5 separate regions of the Homo sapiens genome follow, and regions 1, 2, 4 and 5 are each linked to region 3. Evidence: promoter capture Hi-C in 16 types of primary human blood cells and fetal thymus (Javierre and others, 2016). All regions are on one chromosome and are shown on one strand. The core of a region is centred on a gene start or on the middle of the fragment in contact, and the rest is flanking DNA. Distances in the headings are between cores, read along the strand shown.

Region 1 (2,727 bases), core at 129-2,628, 2.5 Mb after region 3:
CCACAGTGGCTTCTGCATCTTCAGGGGTGTCAACAGATCCTAGATATTCCTCTTTTCCTAAGTATAAAGAATCATCTAGCTCCTCATATCTCTGTCCATCTTTTATATATGTAATAGTTGCTGGAACTTCACATCCAACTTTCTCAACTGAATATGATAATGTGACTTCTGGTGTGTCATATTCCTTCTCATTCTTCCTGGCAGACAAAGCTGTTTCCCTATAACTAGTTTTCTTGTCCCTGAAAAACTCAGAGGTTTCCAAATCCAAGTGTTCCTTCTCACTGAAGAACACTGTGATCTCAGGGGCTTCAGGCTGTTTTATTCCAGGAGAAAAAGCATCTTCTGAATTACTGCTTGCCCCCATAGATTGAGGAGGTACTGTATTCTCATGTTTTAAAACTTCTGCAAAGAAAAGAATTGTTTTTCCCAATTAAGAAAAAGAAGCTGTATAACAGCTAGAGTTCCTGAGGCCTCAAAGCTTCATCCCTCTCCTTTTATTTATTTATTTATTTTTTGAGACAGAGTTTCACTCTTGTTGCCGAGGCTGGAGTGCAATGGCACGATCTGGGCTCACTGCAACCTCAACCTCCCGGGTTCAGGTGATTCCCCTGCCTCAGTCTCCCAAGTAGCTGGGATTACAGGCATGCGCCATGATGCCCAGCTAATTTTTGTATTTTTAGTAGAGACAGTGTTTCACTATGTTGGTCAGGCTGGTCTCAAACTCCTGACCTCAGGTGATCCATCTGCCCCGGCCTCCCAAAGTGCTGGGATTACAGGTGTGAGCCACAGCGCCCAGCCACCTCTTATTTCACTGGAGGACAGGAATACCTAACACCTCCTATATAACTTGCATGTCAACATGTCAACTTTCAGAACTTTCTTTTTTCCACTAAAAAAAAAAATCAGATCACACCACTGTCTTGCTTAAAGTTTGAGTCCTTCCTAGCAACCTTACAGGGTAAGTGAATAAAACGAAAAATTTGAATCATATGAACAGTGTTTACTTGTGGACTTACTGTGACTCACAACAGACTCACGTCTCTTGGGGTCATTGCTAATGAAATCTGATCACAAATAATTTCTAATCAGTAAGCAAATGGCTCTATTTGGAATAGTGTGCTTTAGAAATAATAAAAGAAAAATTTCTAAGCATATAAATCTTGTCCTAAATTAGGTATCACTAACATTCACCTTTTTATCTGAGCCTCTACCTCTCTAACATCCCTTAAAATAATTTTGAATTTTTTTTTAGATTCCTAGAAAAAGAGCTAGACCTAGTCCTAGTAGTAATTTACAGAATTGCTAAATAACTGGAAGAATTGCTTTTTCATGGACTACTAGTTATCTTTGAACCATTTAAGAATTAGCACTGGAATTGCTCCAGAAAACAGCTGCTGCTGGCATTCTTATCACCAAAAAAATGAAACTACTGATTTGCCATCTATGTGTTAAAAATTATTTTCCTTGTATTTTCAAAACGGCTATACTAAGTGAAAGATACAGCTTGTGGTCTTGGCACTGTAAATATCCACGAATTCATCTACTTGAAAAACAAACCCTGGATTGTGTTATTATTAAAGTATTTTCCTTCCAACTGTGAGATTTTAGCATGTTACTGCCAGAATAATGAGCAGTTTGTTAGCACTAAAACAACTTCAAGTTTTGAGTACAGTCTGAAAAACAAATTATCGATTCAGTAGACCAATAAGATGTTAAATTTCAGAAACTTTTTAAATTCCAGTTTTTCCCTATTTCATATTTCAATGAAAATTATCTCCAGAAAAAGACTAACAAAAATAAAAGGCAACAATTTTCTTTCATTTTGTTTTCTTTTTCAGAAAGTCTGCCCCCTTCCTCTCACCCCAAAAAGTATACAAAGTCAACTTACCATGCCTTAAGCCGCAAATGGCAGCTGACTGTGGAAAAGTACTAAATAAACACTTGAGAAAATGCTGACAGGTCGCCTCTCCCTTTTTCTGTACCAAAATTAACAGCTTCCGACTTTTCTTCAGGAGATCTGTAACATTCTCCAGAGTCTCATACTCTTCCTCAGAAATCAGCCTCCGAGAAGTTAACGTGTCTAAGATAGAATCAGGATCATGTTGAAGGATTTCAAGCAACTTTTTTCTTTCTCTTTCTATGATCTCTGAGGGAGTACTCTCGGTAGCCATTGTTCCTGTTTCCTCTAAACCAGGAAATATATTATGAAATCATCCTAATGAATAAGTAAAAGTTAAAAAAAGAATGACAAAGAACAATTCTATTTGGCTAAGCTTTAACATGTCAATGATGCCTAGTGTTGGAGAGTGCAGATACAAGCACAGTGGGGCAACCCAGCTCGGAGCACTCTCTGATCCGGGGTCCTTGTGGATTATTTATCTGCTCTTTTGAAGTCTTGATAAATTCTCACCATGACTCAGACCCAGGGTCACCTCCTCCAAGAAGTCGCTCTTGAACTTCAGGTTGGACTAGGTATTCCCTGCTCAGAGAACTATACTATGATGCCAAGAATGTAAATTATTAATTGATATTTGGTGGGCAATATGGCAATATACAGCAATAAATAAATAAAGTTGAAGACAGACAAAAATAAAACTTCATATCCTTCAACCCAGCAATTCCAGTTCTAGGAAATTATCTTAAGGAAATAATTGAGCAAATGCCCGAAGATGTATGTACAAGAATCTGCATTACAACATTGTTTACAACAGTACAAAATTGAAAATA
Region 2 (2,775 bases), core at 159-2,658, 2.5 Mb after region 3:
TGTATTGAGTGGTGTTTGAAACTATAAAAAAGTGTTTTTTTTTCCCCTATCTCATTCAGTTGCTGTAACAGAATACCATAGACTGGGTGGCTTTATAAACAACAGAAATTTCTCACAGTAATGGAAGCTGCAAGCTTGAAATCAGGGTGCCAGTATGGTTGGGTTCTGATGCGGGCCTCCTTTGGGTTTGCAGACTGCTGACTTTTTGTTGTAGCCTCATGTGGTGAAAGGAAAGAGCCAGAGACTTCTCTGGAGTCGCTTTCATTTATGAGGGCTCTACCTTCATGACCTAATTACCCACCAAAGACCCACCTCCTAATATAATCACACGGAGAATTAGAATTTCAATACATGAATTTTGGGAGGGACACAAACATTCAATCCATAACATCTAAGTATAAGACAAGGCTCGGAGCAGTGGCTCATGCCTGTAATCCCAGCACTTTGGGAGGCCAATGCAGGTGGATCACAAGGTTAGGAGTTCCAGACTAGCCTGGCCAACATGGTGAAACTCCATCTCTACTAAAAATACAAAAATTAGCACTGCTACAGGTGGCACACACCTGTAGTCCCAGCTACTTGGGAGGCTGAGGCACAAGAATCGCTTGAACCCAGGAGGCGGAAGTGGCAGTGAGCCGAGATCCCGCCACTGCACTCCAACCTGGGCGACAGAGCGAGACTCCAATCTAAAAAATAAATAAATAAATAAATACATAAATACATAAATAAAGTATCCTGGATGGGATCCTAGAACAAAAAAAGGAACTTAGGTAAAAACTAAGGTGTGGAATAAAGTGAAGACTTTAGTTACTCATAATATATCAATATTGATTGGTTCACAAATCATAACAAATGTACTACAGAATGTAAGGTGTTGATAATCGGGAAAACTGCATGTAGGGTATATGATAACTCTATATTAGTTTCACAATTTTTCTGTAAATCTAAAGCTGTCCTGAAAAATAAAGTCTATTTTCAAAAAGCATTTGGGAAGGCAGGGCACTGTGGCTCATGACTGTAATCCCAGTACTTTGGGTAGCCGAGGTGGGCGGATCGCCTGAGGTCAGGAGTTCGAGACCAGCCTGGCCAACAGGGTGAAACCCCATCTCTACCAAATATACAAAAATTAGCCAGTCATGGTGGCCGCATCTGTGGTCCCAGCTACTTGGGAGGCTGAGGTGGAAGAATCACTCGAGCCTGGGAGGCAGAGGTTGGAGTGAGCTGGAATCGTGCCATTGCACTCCAGCCTGGGTGACAGAGTGAGACTCCATCCCCCAAAAACAAAACAAAACAAACAAACCAGAAAGTATTTGGGAAGCTTAGAGAATAATATCCAGCAAAGTAAGTAATAAATAAACAAGAAAATAAGGATCTTAGAGGAAGGAAAGTAAGATAAATCAAGGGATGAGGTTAGAATACTAAAATGCATGCCTTTAAGTGACTACATCTTTGTTAGAGTTAGCTGTCAGTGTGAGTCAGCTGAATTGAAAAAGCTTTGCAGATTTGTTTCTTAGAACATCCCCCAGGGCCTGAGGTTGGAGGGCAGCAGCACAAGGTTGGAGGGAGCTGAGCTGGGCCAGCTGCACAGGAGGTAATCTATAAGTGATATTATACACACCACCACCACCACCCCCAACCCGCCCCCTGAGGCCTGAAAACATCACTAGAATTTCTATTTACCTGAGCTTCTTACCTGAGCTCTTCTCAGAGGGATGTGGTTAAACAGAACTACTTTGACAAACCACTTGGTCAGGGGCGGATAAAACTCCCCAACCCACAAACACACGTCTAAGAAGTCAGAGTCTGGTTACCACAAGGTCATTGTTTGCTGGGGCACTGATCCAGCCGTCCTCTTTCTCTGCCTTTCCACTCAAATAAATGTTGGACAGATTTTTTTTTTCTTTTGAGACAGAGTCTCGCTGTGTAGCCCAGGCTGGAGTGCAATGGCACAATCTTAGCTCACTGCAACCTCTGCCTCAAGCGATTCTCCTGCCTCAGCCTCCGGAGTAGCTGGGACTACAGGCGCGTGCCACCATGCCTGCCTAATTTTTTGTATTTTTAGTAGAGATGGAGTTTCACCGTGTTAGCCAGGATGGTCTCGATCTCCTGACCTTGTGATCCTCCCGCCTCGGTGGACGGATCCCAAAGTGCTGGGATTACAGGGGTGAGCTACCGCGCCCAGCTAATGTTGGATAGATTTTTAAATAATTTTGTTTTGAGGGAGACTAAATTCCTGGTTTGAATGGAGAGTCAAATAATTAGCTTACTAAAGGCATCTACATGTTTATCAGCTCTTTGTACTACCAAAGTATAATTCAGTAAAAGCAATTCTAACAGTGACCAAAAAACAGGACAAATTACTCTCCCTTGCTATTGGTCTCAAATGATCCAAGGGTACAGTTTAGGCTATCAGCATATTCTTCAGGTGCCCATCCAAGGATATACTTTCTCTTAGCTGATAAGAATAGGGCACCAAAGAATTTAGAGTTACGTCTTCTGGCAAATGAATATAATTTGTACTGCTGATTATGTATAGATCCATACGTCTGATAATCAGCAAGTCAACTGAGGGGTGGACAGGGTTGATATCTTCTTATTAACACTAAGGAATCCAACCAGGACTAACCAACCACATCCACATGGAGATGGGCCGACAGAGTCCTTGTGAACGGTGCCAAGATTTTCCCTAGAAGACAGTTATGGGAAAACTGTGTGGCTCACGCCTGTAATCCCAGCACTTTGGGAGGCCAAGGTGGGTGCATCACGAGGTCAGGA
Region 3 (3,052 bases), core at 240-2,739:
CCCCAAATTGCTGTTGATCATAATCAGGCAATGTCTCTCTCTCTGTTTACTATCTAGTTACTTTACATACATATGAAGTGAGTCATGGGCAATACTGTGGAATGGAAATCATTACTGAGTGGTCCTCTTCCCCCAAGTCATTTATGCCACCACTTCACAGTGGTTCCATTTCCAATATATTTTGCCACTTTGCTGCTGAGAATGTGTCTTACTAGGTTAGCATCTATAGTGGTTAAAAGAATCTCCCATAACAATAATTGTGTGAATCACAGAATTACCAATGACCCCTTATCAATAGCATTCCTGTTAATTAAATTGAGATGGGGAGAGATACAAACAACTCCGAACCTCACTCATGGTCCCCCACCAAAGCTAAGTATTATGGCTTCTCTCTCTGACCAGATAGAGGCAGAGTTTATTGCAAAGCCACAAGTGTCCTCCTTTGGATTCCCCCAAATAGTGTTTCAGTGAATTCCTCTAGCTTGAATTGCTCCTCTCTATTTGCTGGGGGAGTTAGGCAGTCCGTATCCGATGGATTTACTATGCCGACAATTACGTGGCCTTTCCACAGCCTTTTACTTGGCAGGTACCACATATGAAGCTTAGAAGATACAGTGGGCAACAGGCCAAATGGAGTCCCTTTCCTCAGAGTGCATGGCCTGGCAAAAATCCTTGAATTCAGTATCAACTTCCCTTCACAGGCAAGGCTCTGCACCCTCCCCACGGATGCCTAATCCTGAAACCATTTTGTTTTAGGTTTAGTTAGAAAGCTTTGTCTCAAGAGCACTTTTGTTTGTTCTGTTTTCTTTAAGTCAAGGTAGTTTTGAATAAAGGAGACAATATTTGAGTATTTACAAATCGGGTATTTAGACTATTTACACATATACAAGTTCTGGGTGAAGTATTCTGCTCCAATTTGCAATCTACGCACACTTTGCTAGAAAACGTTAAGACTGAATTCAAATCAAGTACAGTATTTCAGAAATCTTTCAGGTGAAGCCTAGTTCTGGTTGCTAGGCAACCTGACAGACTCCCAAGCTGGGACCACCTCGCCTCCCACATTTGACCATCTCTCCAGCGGTGGGACGCGGAGTACCCATTGGCCCGCATCTCCTCTCACTTAGTCCCAATTGGTCGGAGAACCTCTCACTCCGCTCCCGTTGGCTCTCGCCGTATCTCGCAGCTCCGTCATTGGCAACTGGGCTCTCGTGCCACCTCACGTCAGTCTCTCACACCACTTCCTCGGCCCTGAGACTTTGTCCCCGCCTCTTCTCCCCGCCCTTCCAGCCACGAGGGAAAATCCTAGCGAGTCATCGCCTCTAGTTTCCTTTTGATTGGTAGAAGCCGGACTGGGGGGCGGGCGCTGCCGGGCAACTCTACCGGCCGCGATTGGCTGTGGGAGCCACCGTCCCGCCTCCCAGCGACTCTCGGCGGTGCCGGAGTCGGGTGGGTTGGCGGCTATAAAGCTGGTGGCGAAGGGGAGGCGCCGCGGACTGTCCTTTCGTGGCTCACTCCCTTTCCTCTGCTGCCGCTCGGTCACGCTTGGTGAGTGTCCCGCGCTGGGGAGTAGAACTGGGCTGCGGAGGTGCCGCGGGCGGGGTGTGGGCCAGACAGAGGCGGTGTCCTTGACTAGGCCCGAAGGAGCTGGGGCTCTGGGTCAGGACGTAGGCGTGGACTTTGCCCGGGAGGATGGGGCACCGTGAGCGGGGCCGGGCGGGGGTTCCCTCGTGAGGGACCTGAGGCCGACCGTAGCGGATCTGAGAAGATCCGAGAACACAGGCGAGTCGCGGAGGGGAGAACGCGAGAGGGCGTTGAGGTCTAGGTATTCTAACGACAGAGGAGTTGGAGGTGCCAGAGAGGCAGCTGTGACCGCCTAGAGGTGAGTGGGGGGTGTCAGGAGGGGGAGAGAAGACAGTTGGGCTACCAAGGCGTTTCCAGAGCGTTGGTTAAGGGTGGACGCCAAAGGATGGGCAAGATCCTCTTTAGACGGAGGCTGGTAGGTTCGCAGGGGGTGTGTCCTGCTGCCACATATAGAGTTGATGGAAAGAAGGGAAGTGGGTAGCATTACTTTTCTTCCTCAGCTCAGGTGCAAGAAAGCGTTCACAACCGTGATTTAGACCTGGCTAAGTACTGGGGCTCAGTCTGTACTTGCTTCAAATCTCATAGATCACTGCCTCCCGCCTTCCTGCCTCCATATTTTTTTTTGTCTACGTTTTAAAAAATAGGCTTCCTTGGTGTTCTGAAATCCCACATCTCTCTCCTACTAATACCTTCGGGACCAGCTTTAGGTGATACAGTGTAATGGGCAGGCACTCACAGAGTCCTCCCACAAATAGGTTTTGGATTAAGCTAAGGATATTTCAAAGCAAGTATATGGAGTCTTTGAAAACCCACGTCTGGCCTTGACCAGTGGTAGAGAAACGATTATTCTGATCCACTCTGGAGGAGGGATTTGGGGAACAAATAATGTGAGGTTGTGCCTGTTTGTCATGCTTGTCCCTATGGCCTTAGCCTTAAGGCATCAGTAGCTGCTTTCACTGCTCACCTCTGCTGCAGCTCCCCACCTTCCCGAGGATGCTCTTGCCACCTGCTGCAGTAGGATGATGTGTTCTGGTTGCTGCTAACTAACATTTGCTCTGTTTTAGGCATGAATATGAAAAACAATGACAAGATAAACAACAAAATTAAGACAAATGGAAGTGCTCCTAGAGTTAACAGATTTTTCCTTCTGAGATGTGTTTTGGACTTTATTGCACAGATACTATTAGATGAGAGGCAGTTGAAAGTCGTTAACATTATCCGTGTCAGTAGTTCTTTGCACTTGAGACACCTAAGCAGCTTGTGTTCTTTAAACTTTATTTTAAAATTGCAGTTATTTTTGTGTGAAGAAGGGGGCAGGGATAGCATACCTTATGGGAAGAGAGAAAGGCTTTCTTTGTGTCTACCTTTGTAGATATTTCTCACCTAAGTTTGTAAGTTTGCCCTTTATTCGGTTCTACTTTAGTTCAGCTCAATTCTAGTATAATCATCAGTAACCCCAGCACTCAGAAGG
Region 4 (2,717 bases), core at 84-2,583, 2.6 Mb after region 3:
TTAGGGGAAAATGCATTTGTTAAATGTACATGTATATATATTTTTGAGACAGGGTCTCACTCTGTCGCCCAGGCTGGAGTGCAGTGGTGTAATCATTGCTCACTGCAGCCTTGACCCCCTAGGCTCCAGCAATCCTCCTGCTGTAGCCTCCTGAGTAGCTGGGACTACAGGTGTGTGCCATCATGCCTGGCTAACTGTTATTATTTTTGTAGAGATGAGGTCTTTCTATGTTGCCCAGGCTGGTCTCTAACTCTTGAGCTCAAGTGATCTGCCCGCTGCAGTCTCCCAAAGTGCTAAAATTACAGGAGTGAGCCACCATGTTCAGCCTCAAATTTACTCTTAAAGTATTATGATTTTTTTTTGCCTAGATATTACTTCTAATTCCACTGGGATCATTTATATAAAAATCTCATCTGTAATTAATATAGAAATAGTAGTAGTGGTAATTCACATAGAAATAGAAATAGAAATAGTAGTATAGAAATAAAAATAATTGCCATATATCTTAAGTAATTATTTAGTAATTATTTCTTGCCTTTAGTAATTATTTTAGGTTAGGGAGAAGAGGTTGAGTCTCACAGTCAAGGAAGATACATAAAAACCACAAAAAGGAGAAAGAACTAACAAAAGCATAGCTGGAGCCATTTAACTAGGGGCAAATATCTCTAACAAGACTTGAGGATGTTGCTGCCTTACTATATACAGCGTAACAATGAATGACTCATGGTGTATGAATCACCTGGAACAGGGACAGTTTAGTTGAGGCTGAGTCAGTTCACAACGGAAAAGGCGATTCATTGACCATTTGCATGTGTTCCTTTGGCACTTACTAGATGTAACAATATTTGGGTCAGGATATTATAGAAAGATTTTCAACAATTTGGGTAAAATTTGGGTAAAAGAAGGAAGAATTATTTTTTTCTTCCTTTAAAGATTCTTTGAATCTTTAAAATATTCGAAGAAATACATTTCATTAATCTGCAAAATCAAGCTTATATTAAACTTACTCCTGGATGATACTGGATCAGTAAGGTAGAACTGCATTTCTTTTTCTTCCTTAACTGGAATTTAGATCTTAATTAGCTATAGGTCTCTGATCCTCTCTCAAAAGATTTTTGTTCATTTCCTTTGTTATTGTTTTGTTGTTATTCACTTGTTTTGTTTTGAGAACTTACACTCATTGCAAAATCTGACCTAAACTTATTTTGGCAGCAAAACTGAACTGAACAGACTGTGAAGCCATTTAGTTCAATTTATTCCACTTAGAGTGAATATTCCTATGTTCTGGTCCAGGATTACTGTTCCAGTTCTGATGGGGATATTACATATTTTGCAATATATTATTGATTACTTTTCTAAAAGCCAAGAAATTCTGAATTCTGAAACTCATCTGCCCGTAAATATTTTGGATATGGGATTATGGGCCTGTAAATCTCAGAGAATAAAATAGTGACATGCCTCTAACCAAGATGAAATTAATATCTTCCTATATGGAAGACAGCTAAATCAAGAATGAACTAGAATGAACAGCAGTGTGTAATATCGCCTCTTGAAATACTTTTAGAAACTACGCTGGGATAAATGATAGTATCAAGGCAAAGCATACTTGATTTAAAAAAAAATCTTTACAGAAAGTAAAATAAAGCATCTTGGTTTCTTCCTTCCATAAGCTTTGAGGTCTTCAGCTATGCCTGGAAACTCAGCAGTTCCCTCAACTCTACAGGCCTTTTCTCAGATGAGGTATTTGTTACTGAGACCCAGAGGTTTTGAGGAACTTAGGATGTCCCCCACCCTGTTGGTGGCAGAGTCTGGTCTGGACCTCCATGTTGCCTTTTCTGTTCTACCAGTCTGGCTTTCTGTTTAATTATTATTTCCTGACAATGGAATTGTTGGTAAAAAGCATGAGGTCTATATTTTATTCACATCACATACTACGTTCCTAAGGGTAGAAGAAATGATGGCGTTAAATCTGTTAGTATCAAGTCCTGTGTGTGGTCTCTGGAAAAGACCTACGGCCGGGTTTATGCGAACTTGAGCCTTCAAGCCTCCAGGTGGCAGTGTTGCTCCACTTGAGAGTTTCTGATACTACCTCCCTAACAAGCACTGTGTAAAGCCATCTCCGAGACTCGCAGAACAGAATTTTGGTTAAGTCTGAACCTGACGTTTCTGAGATTTTTGACACTGAAAATGTTTTATTGCTGGTTGCTTCTCCTACCACAACCTCAAAGGAAACATGGCTACTACTGAAAGGAAGAAAATTTTTGAATAGTTAAAATGGAATTTATAGCCATTCAAAGAAGTACATTAGGAGTTAGCATTTTAAAATTTCTGTGGCCTTTTAGAAAGGTTGGAATGTTGTAAAACAATTAATAATAGGTTTTCATAATCAAAGGTGATGAGAGGCAAGGAAAGAATCATTTCTGTGCCTCATCTCATCCACAGCAGCAATGGATTTCGACTAGTATAGGAGGGAATGAAAGGAGGCTATATTAAAAGTATGCTCTATTTTAAAGTTTTCCATGGGGGAGGAAAAGTTTACAATTAGTACAAGCCACTGAACCTGGTCATTCAATGTCTTTTCAATAAAGGGGAGTTCACAGGGTAGTAAAAGTATGAGTTTAAAAAGCAAAAGTCCAAATTCAGGTAAAAACATCCTCAAAAGTTGGTTAGATTGAAAAGAATCAATATGAGTTTTACTTTGCAGCGTATTTCAATTG
Region 5 (2,991 bases), core at 43-2,542, 2.6 Mb after region 3:
TTGTGAGGTTTAAGAAGCCATTTTCATAACATGAAAGTGCAAAGTAAAGCAGCAAATGCTGATGTTATCCAGAAAAGATCTAGCTAAGATAATTGATGAAGTTGGCTACACTAAATGAGATTTTCTTTTTTTTTTTTTTTTTCTTTTGAGACGGAGTTTCACTCTGTTGCCCAGGCTGGAGTGCAATGGCATGATCTTGGCTCACTGCAACCTCCGCCTCCTGGGTTCAAGCGATTCTCCTGCCTCAGCCTCCCGAGCAGCTGGGACTACAGGCGTGCGCCACCACGCCCAGCTAATTTTTGTATTTTTAGTAGAGACAGGGCTTCACCATGTTGGCCAGGATGGTCTCTATCTCTTGACCTTGTGATCCTTCCGCCTTGGCCCCCCAAAGTGCTGAGATTACAGGTGTGAGCCACTGCGCATGGCCATAAGATTTTCAATGTGGATGACACAGGTTTCTATTGGAAGAAGATACTCTCCAGGACTTTCATAGCTGCAGAGAAGTCAATGCTTGGCTTTAAAGCATCAGAAGACAGGCTCACTCCTTTGTGAGGGCTAATGTAGCTGGGAACTTTAAATTGAAGCCAATGTCTATTTACCGTTCTCAAAATCCTGTTGCCCTTGAGAATTATGCTAAATGTACTTTGCCTGTGTTCTATAAATGGAACAACAAAGCCTGGATGATGGCACATCTGTTTACAGCATGGTTTACTGAATATTTTAAGCCCACTATTGAGACCTGCTCATGAAGAAAAGATTCCTTTCAAAATTTTACTGCTCATTGACAGTGCACCCTGTCATCCAAGAGTTCTGATGGAGATGTACAAGATTAATGTTGTTTTCATGCCTATTAACAACAGCATCTTTTCCTCAGCCCATGGATCAAGGAGCAATTTTCACTTTCAAGTCTTACTATTGAAGAAATACATTTTGTAAGGCTATAGCTGCCATAGATAGTGATTCTTCTGATTCATTTGGACAAAGTCAATTGAAAACTTTCTGGAAAGGATTCTAATTCTAGATAACCATTAGGAATATTTGTGATTCATGGGAGGTGGTCAAAATATCAACATTAACAGGAATTTGGAAGAAGTTGATTACAACCTTCATGGATAACTTTGAGGGGTTCAAGACTTCAGTGGAGGAAATAACTGCAGATGTGGTGGAAATAGTAAGATAACTCAAATTAGAAGTGGAGCCTGAAGATGTGACTGAATTCCTGCAATCTCATGATAAAATTTGAAAGGATGAGGAGTTGCTTCTTAGGGATGAACAAAGAAAGTGGTTTCTTGAGATGGAATCTACGCCTGGTGAAGATGCTGTTAACATGGTTGAAATGACAACAAAGGACTTAGAGTACATTATATAAACTTAGTTGATAAAGCAGTGGCAGAGTTTGACAGTATCGACTCTAATTTTGAAAGAAGTTCTGCTGTGGGTAAAATGCTACCAAATAGGACTGCATGCTACAGAAAAATTTTTTGTGAAAGGGAGAATCAGTCGATGCAGCAAACTTCATTGTTGTTGTTTTTTTTTTGGAGACAAAGTCTTATCCTGTCACCCAGGGTGCCAGGGTGGAGTTCGGTGGCATGGTCATGGCTCACTGCAGCCTTAACCTCCTGGGCTCAGGTGATCCTCCTGCCTCTGTCTCCTGAGTAGGTGGGACTACAGATGTGTACCACCACGCCTGGATAGTTTTTAAAAATTTTTTGTAGAGATGAGATTTCGCTGGTCTCAAACTCCTGGGCTCAAGCCCTCTACCTGCCTTAGCCTCACAAAGTGCTAGGATTACAGGCGTGAGCCAACATGCCTGACCGCTGTTGTCTTATTTTAAAAAATTGTCACAGCCACCAGCCTTCAGTAACCACCACCCTGATCAGTCAACAGCCATCAACATTGAGGAAAAACTCTCCATCAGTAAAAAGATTAGGACTTGCTGAAGGTTCAGATGATCATTGGCGTTTCTTAGCAATAAAATATTTTTAAATTAAGGCATGTACTTTTTTTTTTTTTTTTGAGATGGAGTTTCGCTCTGTTGCTCAGGCTGGAATGCAGTGGTGCAATCTCAGCTCACTGCAACCTCTGCCTCCCGAGTTCAAGCGATTCTCCTGCCTTAGCCTCCTGAATAGCTGGGATTACAGGCACATGCCACCACGCCCGGATAATTTTTGTATTTTTAGTAGAGACGGGGTTTCACCATGTTGGTCAGGCTGGTCTCAAACTCCTGACCTCGTGATCTGCCCACCTCAGCCTCCCAGAGTGCTGGGATTACAGGCGTGAGCCACTGCACCTAGCAAGGCATGTACATTTTTAAAGATATGATGCTATAACACTTAATTAGACTATAGTATAGTGTAAACATAACTTTTATATGCATAGGGAGACCAAAGCATTTGTGTGACCCACTTTTTAGTATTATTCACTTTATTGCAGTGGTCTGGAACTGACCGTGCAACAACTCTGAGATAGGCCTGTACTTATACATCACTTCAGCCATGTGCATCAGTAATGAAGACCTTGAAACCTGCTCGAACTTATGCAGTATTTCATTTCTCTCCCTCCCATACTCCCACAGTGCCCATTCTTTGGTAGTTTCATAAAGCCCTCTGATTCGTTGCTTTTCTTTTCTTTATGTTTTTTGGTTCATTGCTTTTTTTCTCTGTTTCTCTAGTTGATCATTTGATCAAAATCTCCTTGTGGTTATAGACTCCTTTAAGAATGGAATGAAAGCTTAAACACTATTCTCCAAAATGTACACAGATATAAAGAATTTTGTACAATTTATATACAGTTCCCAGTGTTTCTTAGTATCTTGAAGACCATCTATACAACTAGTAAATTTTTGGATCCCTCAGTTAATCTCTTCTCTAAATAAATATTTGTTGAATTATTTCAGGATTTCTGTTAACTTTGTTTTATCATTTATCCTCTCTTTATTTCTTACATTTGTATATCATTGCAGATTTACTGAAAAGTTCAGCATTTGTTATT

Evidence for each region. Contacts are between HindIII fragments. The CHiCAGO score rates a contact against its expected background, and 5 or more counts as called.
Region 1: a contact is called between a fragment that was not itself captured here and the fragment with the promoter of HMGCS1 in region 3, in 1 of 17 cell types (naive B cells). The highest score is 5.0, in naive B cells.
Region 2: a contact is called between a fragment that was not itself captured here and the fragment with the promoter of HMGCS1 in region 3, in 1 of 17 cell types (total CD4 T cells). The highest score is 5.1, in total CD4 T cells.
Region 4: a fragment that was not itself captured here is called in contact with the fragment with the promoter of HMGCS1 in region 3 in 1 of 17 cell types (fetal thymus); the score reaches 7.6 in fetal thymus.
Region 5: a contact is called between a fragment that was not itself captured here and the fragment with the promoter of HMGCS1 in region 3, in 1 of 17 cell types (total CD4 T cells). The highest score is 6.3, in total CD4 T cells.

The regions. Positions count from the first base shown.
Region 1 is chr5:40,840,827-40,843,553 of GRCh38, reverse strand. CARD6 (caspase recruitment domain family member 6) reads right to left here and starts at 2,187. Exons shown (of 3, transcript NM_032587.4): 1 at 1,889-2,187; 2 at 1-402. The coding sequence starts at 2,171. The HindIII fragment of the contact is 1,795 bases long and covers 481-2,275 here.
Region 2 is chr5:40,807,238-40,810,012 of GRCh38, reverse strand. No RefSeq gene overlaps it. Among named protein-coding and RNA genes, the nearest start is that of PRKAA1, 10 kb to the right of the region's middle. The HindIII fragment of the contact is 175 bases long and covers 1,321-1,495 here.
Region 3 is chr5:43,311,849-43,314,900 of GRCh38, reverse strand. It overlaps HMGCS1 (3-hydroxy-3-methylglutaryl-CoA synthase 1), which reads left to right and starts at 1,489. Exons shown (of 11, transcript NM_001098272.3): 1 at 1,489-1,545. RefSeq lists enhancers at 62-576, 577-1,093, 1,100-1,329, 1,580-1,719. The HindIII fragment of the contact is 3,835 bases long and covers 773-3,052 here.
Region 4 is chr5:40,687,668-40,690,384 of GRCh38, reverse strand. The region is part of intron 2 of PTGER4 (prostaglandin E receptor 4); the gene reads right to left. Among named protein-coding and RNA genes, the nearest start is that of PTGER4, 9.1 kb to the right of the region's middle. The HindIII fragment of the contact is 679 bases long and covers 994-1,672 here.
Region 5 is chr5:40,749,113-40,752,103 of GRCh38, reverse strand. All of the region lies in intron 1 of TTC33 (tetratricopeptide repeat domain 33), which reads left to right. Among named protein-coding and RNA genes, the nearest start is that of TTC33, 5.4 kb to the left of the region's middle. The HindIII fragment of the contact is 2,881 bases long and covers 1-2,732 here.